Linked DNA regions of Homo sapiens: region 2 is linked to region 1. Evidence: promoter capture Hi-C in human tissues and cell types (Jung and others, 2019). All regions are on one chromosome and are shown on one strand. The core of a region is centred on a gene start or on the middle of the fragment in contact, and the rest is flanking DNA. Distances in the headings are between cores, read along the strand shown. Region 1 holds the start of PARK7 (Parkinsonism associated deglycase). Region 2 overlaps RERE (arginine-glutamic acid dipeptide repeats).

Evidence for each region. Contacts are between HindIII fragments. The study calls those that stand out against the background at their distance.
Region 2: a contact is called between a fragment that was not itself captured here and the fragment with the promoter of PARK7 in region 1, in 1 of the 25 tissues and cell types used here (dorsolateral prefrontal cortex).

The regions. Positions count from the first base shown.
Region 1 is chr1:7,960,370-7,963,171 of GRCh38, forward strand. It overlaps PARK7 (Parkinsonism associated deglycase), which reads left to right and starts at 1,342. Exons shown (of 7, transcript NM_007262.5): 1 at 1,342-1,424; 2 at 2,394-2,506. The coding sequence starts at 2,417. RefSeq lists enhancers at 410-1,193, 893-992, 1,194-1,977, 1,373-1,422, 1,623-1,672 and 1 more and a silencer at 1,143-1,242. The HindIII fragment of the contact is 29,789 bases long and covers 1-2,802 here.
Region 2 is chr1:8,512,792-8,515,593 of GRCh38, forward strand. All of the region lies in intron 7 of RERE (arginine-glutamic acid dipeptide repeats), which reads right to left. Among named protein-coding and RNA genes, the nearest start is that of SNORD128, 19 kb to the left of the region's middle. The HindIII fragment of the contact is 5,560 bases long and covers 1-2,802 here.

The sequences.
Region 1 (2,802 bases), core at 92-2,591:
AAGTTGGTGGTTACCAGAGGCCAGGAAGGGTAGCCAGGAGAAGGGGATGAACAGGGTGATTAATAGGTACAAAAATTGGTAGAAGTGCTGGGCAAGGTGTCAAGAGCCCCAGCATCAGAAAGTGGTCGACTTGCTGGTTGGTAAGAAGAATTTATCGACAACAATATAGGTTTGAAAAAGGAAAGTTTTATTAGAACGCTGCAGAAGAGTGCAGCCTCAGCAAGAGAGAACTGAGCATGCCGCGGTGGATTTTTCATGTCCCTTTTCGAATGTCTCATTTTTTGCAAATTCAATCCAAGTTGCGTTCATTTAGCCAGGATCCTTCTAAGCTCATTCAAGAATTTTGGGCTTTAACTATTTCCTTTGATTTAACCTGGTACCAGGTGCCAACTTTAGATAATAGGGATATCTAATTACTTCTAAATTCCTCAGATAAGGGGCCTGCTTGATGGTCACCAGGTGATCTGTGCTCTCCTTAAGAGGGAATAAGACCTAGCGTTGGCAGAGTTCTGTAGGGTGACTATAGTTAACAGTAATCTGTTGTATATTTTAAAATGTTATTATTGAAGAGAGTAACTGGAATGTTCCCAGTATAAAGACAAATGTTTAAGGTGATAGAGATCTCATTTACCCTGATTTAATCATTACACATTATATGAAAGTATCAAAATACCACATGTACCCAGAAAACACATACGTCTCTTACATATCAATAAATACAACTTGAGATTATGATGTAAATACATCTGACCAACTTGGTACTTATTAGACTTATGTGCGCAGCACTGCTCTAGTCCTGTGGGTGCAGCAGCATCAGGATCGTTAAAGAAAACAAACAATGCTGAGAAAAAAACTCACACCCCTGAGACATCCGGGTGTGAATAAATGCGGCAGAGTCGCCCGAGATCGGGAGACCAGGCGTGGGGGAGAGGTCCGGGAGGCCTGGACCAGAGTCCTAACAGACCAGAGGCGAAACGGGAAGGCGCGCCAGAAAAGGAACAACGCAAAGGGAGCAGGCGTGCACGGAGCGCGAACTAAGGAACCCCTCTGACAACCCCAGTCCCTCGGCAGTTCCAGAGACCGGCTCCTCACGGAGGGTGGCGGTAGAGACTGTTAAGCCCCGCGGGCGCCGGGGCAGGCCGGACTGTGCCATTCGTGGGGGGTACCATGTGGGACCGAGCCGCCTCACCCAGGGCTGTCCAGCTAGAAACTCCCCGGTGCCACCCCCGCCTCAGTCCGAGGTAGACTCGGCCGGACGTGACGCAGCGTGAGGCCAAGGCGGCGTGAGTCTGCGCAGTGTGGGGCTGAGGGAGGCCGGACGGCGCGCGTGCGTGCTGGCGTGCGTTCATTTTCAGCCTGGTGTGGGGTGAGTGGTACCCAACGGGCCGGGGCGCCGCGTCCGCAGGAAGAGGCGCGGGGTGCAGGTCAGCGCCAGCGGGGGCGCGGCGCATGTGTGGGCCGTGGCGCTGGGCGGCGTGGGGGTGCTGGACGGTGTCCCTGTGCTGGACGGTGTCCCGCTGGCTCAGAACCGGCGCGGGGCCTGGGTCGGGGCCGCCCTCGCTTCCGGCCTCCCAGTCGGGCCCTGTCGCTGGCGTTGGATTTGACTGACCGCCAGCGTGGTGGCAACGCTGAAGCGTCCAGAATCTTCTGCCTAACCTCTCGCCGGCATGGAACTGGCTAGCCGTTTTATTAAACTCTGTTTTGCGTGGACGGTAAACCCTCCAGATAATCTGTAAATAGGCTAAAAAAAATTCGGAACCTCGTTGAGCTGCTGTCGTTGGCAGTGAGAACTCCGCGCAGAGAGACAGATGTAGTTGGGTTGACTTCAGTGAGGGGATTTCCATCTTTCTCAGTCATTAAAAAAAGTGTTCAGACATTTAACACTGTTGACCCCCACACACAATTTTTTAGTACAGTTATAACTAAGAAAACAAAAATCCCCTCCAAAAAATTACAAGTTAATTGCGAAAGACCACATTTAAATTTTTGCCCATGAAATTCAGTTTAGTCGTTTCTCTGAAACAGTGCTTCAAAAAAGACTGTTTCCCCGCATTGTGTGAAATGCAGGAGACCCACGTACTTGTATTTTTAAAAAACCCATTTGCAACATACTATTAAAGTTGGATTTAAGAGAACATGGTAGAAGAAAATCTAAGCAATACTACACCTTTTAGCACCCTCATTATGTTTTCATCTCAGAGCAATTAAAACTGCTATACAAATCAACGTTAAGATAACTAAACTGCTGCTTTTTTCGTATTCAGTTGTCTATGAAAACCGTTTCCCTAGGAAGTACTTACTCTGCTTGAAAATGCTCCTAAACTTTAAATTTTGGGGTATCTCAGGGTTGCAATGAAAGTTTTTTGAAATCTTTTTTTTTTTTTTTTTTTAAGGCTTGTAAACATATAACATAAAAATGGCTTCCAAAAGAGCTCTGGTCATCCTGGCTAAAGGAGCAGAGGAAATGGAGACGGTCATCCCTGTAGATGTCATGAGGCGAGCTGGGGTAAGTCCCACATCGATTTTTAGCCATTCCTGTTTTAAATGTTTTTGGATTTTTAAATCATTTTGAATAAAATATTCAAAGTGCTCTATGAAATATTTCAAATATACACAAAATTTCAGAGATGACATAAGAATAAATACCTGTTGATCCACTGCTCACATTTAACGCTTGTTAATGTCTTGCCATATTTCCTTCAGACCCATTTCTCTTTTGTTTTGAGCTCTGTCGTCCAGGCTGGAGTGCGATGGCAGGATCTTGGCTCATTTCGGTCTCTGCCTCCTGGGCCCAAACCATCT
Region 2 (2,802 bases), core at 216-2,715, 550 kb after region 1:
AAACCCTGGGTTCCATGGAAGCCACCATGGCTCTGGGGAAGAACCTGAACCAGATCCTCGATCTTTAGGCCCTGGGTTCTGCCTGCACAGACCCCCATCTTCTGTGACTTCCGGAGAGCCACTTCCTAGATGAGGAGGTGAAACTCAACAACAAGATCGGCGACTACCAGACCAACCTCCCCAGGCTGGGCTGGGTAAATGTTTCTTCCAAAAGACTCACCCTCAAGCACCACGAGGAGCCTACAGAGCCCAGCAAACTTTTAGGAGCCCCTCTCAAAGTTCAGGGCTACTGCCTAAGCAGCGCCTCCAGCCACTACCCTGGACCCCTCTCCCAAGCCGTGGACAAAACAGAAATAAAGCTTATTACAAAAAATAAAAATAAAAATTACTGAACATCCCAAGAAATCTAAATTTTTGAAAACTTTCAAAATATTGATTTAAAAATAGCAATAAGCCCATTACATAACAATATACATATTCTTATAAAAAGTAATTGCATTTAAGCAGAAACCTTTAGTAAAAAGTGAGGCATTATTTTATGTTTTTGCAAATCTCATTAATATTTGACTTAATAGAAAAGACAGCTAGATTCTCCTATCTACTTTTGAATTCAATCTGCTGCAATATATTGTTGTGGTTAAATTATATGAAGATAATACAGCCTAACACAGTGATGTAACTAGAAAAGGGAAGAATATAGCCTTTTTGATACTACACCAAAAACTCAACAAGTTCCCGGCACTCTGGGGGGCCGAGGTGGGAGGATCACTTGAGGTCAAGAGTTCGAGACTAGCCTGGCCAACATAGTGAAACCCTGTCTCGACTAAAAATACAAAAAATTAGCCGGGTGTGGTGTTGCATGCTTGCAATCCCAGATACTCAGGAGCCTGAGGCAGCAGAATTGCTTGAACCTGGGAGGCAGAGGTTGCAGTGAGCCAACATCGTGCCATTGTACTCCAGCCTGGGCAACAAGAGCGAAACTCTGTCTCAAAAACAAAACAAAACAAAACAAAAACTCAACAAGTAATCATTTCTTAAAGATGTGTACACAAGGTGAGTCTAAAAGCCTATCAATAGTCTTTTGACTGTGCTACTCTGAAATCCATTGGTCTGTCTTGCCTTTGAATGAATGGATCTTCTACTCAGATGTGATTTTGTAATGTCATGCATTGGTTTTATAGAGAATGTCAGTTTACTCAGTTCTGCAGATCTTTCAAATATCAACCAGTTCTTTATACAGCATTTTTTAAAAATCATATTAATATCACCTATCTCATAAGAAATGCCTTTCAGTGTAGAGAAGCTGTCAGGCTCAGAGTGGTGAGTACAAGCTTTTCGAAATTCTAATTTTTACTTGAAAGTTCAAATCTTAGCCTTGTCAAATAGTATCAGTGTTTTCCTTGAAATAACAAGCTCACTTAATTCATCTTCAAGAAAGTTTCTGCCAAATGCCCACGTCTGAATGACCACAGTTTGTCTGTCAGTTGTTCTTTCAAAGAGTAACTGATATTCCATGAAAAAAGTGGCTAGCTTCGCTTCTAACTCAAATGTCTCGACGGAACCAAGGCTTCTCCTCAAGACAATCACTGTCTTTTGGTATAGGGCAGAAGACTTTTAAGTCGGGAAGCCAAGTCTTGGGATTAAAAAATACTAATAGGCTGGGCGAGGTGGCTCACGCCTGTAATCACAGCATTTTGGGAGGCCGAGGCAGGTGGATCACCTGAGGTCAGGAGTTCGAAACCAGCCTAGTCAACATGGTGAAACCCCATCCCTACTAAAAACACAAAATTAGCCATACCGGGTGGTGTGTGCCTGAATCCTAGCTACTCGGGAGGCTCAGGCAGGAGAACTGCTTGAACCCGGGAGGCAGAGGTTACAGTGAGCTGAGGTCACACCATTGCACTCCAGCCTGGGCAAAAAAAGAATGAAACTCCGCCTCAAAAAAAAAGAAAGAAAAGAAAAGAAAGAAAAGACAAGACAAGAAAAGAAAAGAGAAATAATAATAATAATAATGAGGTCCACAAGCTATGCTCTGAGAAGCACTGATTATGGCACATTCTGAACTTCAGCAAGTGCTGGAGGCTAAAATTCATCTAGAAGACTCCAGCTTTCTTCTTTGATGAATAACAACAGTAGCTAACATTTCAGCACTTACTATCTGTCCTAGGTGCTCTACAGTATTATCTCATTTCTAGGTATTAAGGCATTTAATTCATGTTTTGATATTAACAGACATGTTAGTATTGCTATTCACAGAAATTCAGGTGTCTTTCTATCCTGTGTTCAAAGCAACACAGCACTACACGTGGTGGTGCACACCTGGAATCCCAGCACTCTGGGACGCTGAGGCAAGAGGACAGCTTGAGCTCAGGAGTTTGAGACCAGCCTGGGCAACAGGCTTTATAAAAAATGTTTTTTTAATTAGCTGGTCACGGTGGCACGCACCTATAATCCCACCTACTCAGGAGGCTGAGCCAGGAGAATCACTTGAGCTCTGGAGTTTGAGGCTGCAGTGAGCTATGATCACACCACTGCACTCCAGCCTGGGCAAAACAGAGCTAGACTGTCTTTAAAAAAACAAACAGGCCGGGCGTGGTGGCTCACCTGAGGCAGGCAGGTCACCTGACGTCAGGAGTTCAAGACCAGCCTGGACAACATGGTGAAACCCCACACTACTAAAAATACAAAACTTAGCCGGGCGTGGTGGCAGGCGCCTGTAGTCCCAGCTACTCAGGAGGCTGAGGCAGGAGAATTGCTTGAGTCTGGGAGGCAGCGGTTGCAGTGAGCCAAGATCATGCTACT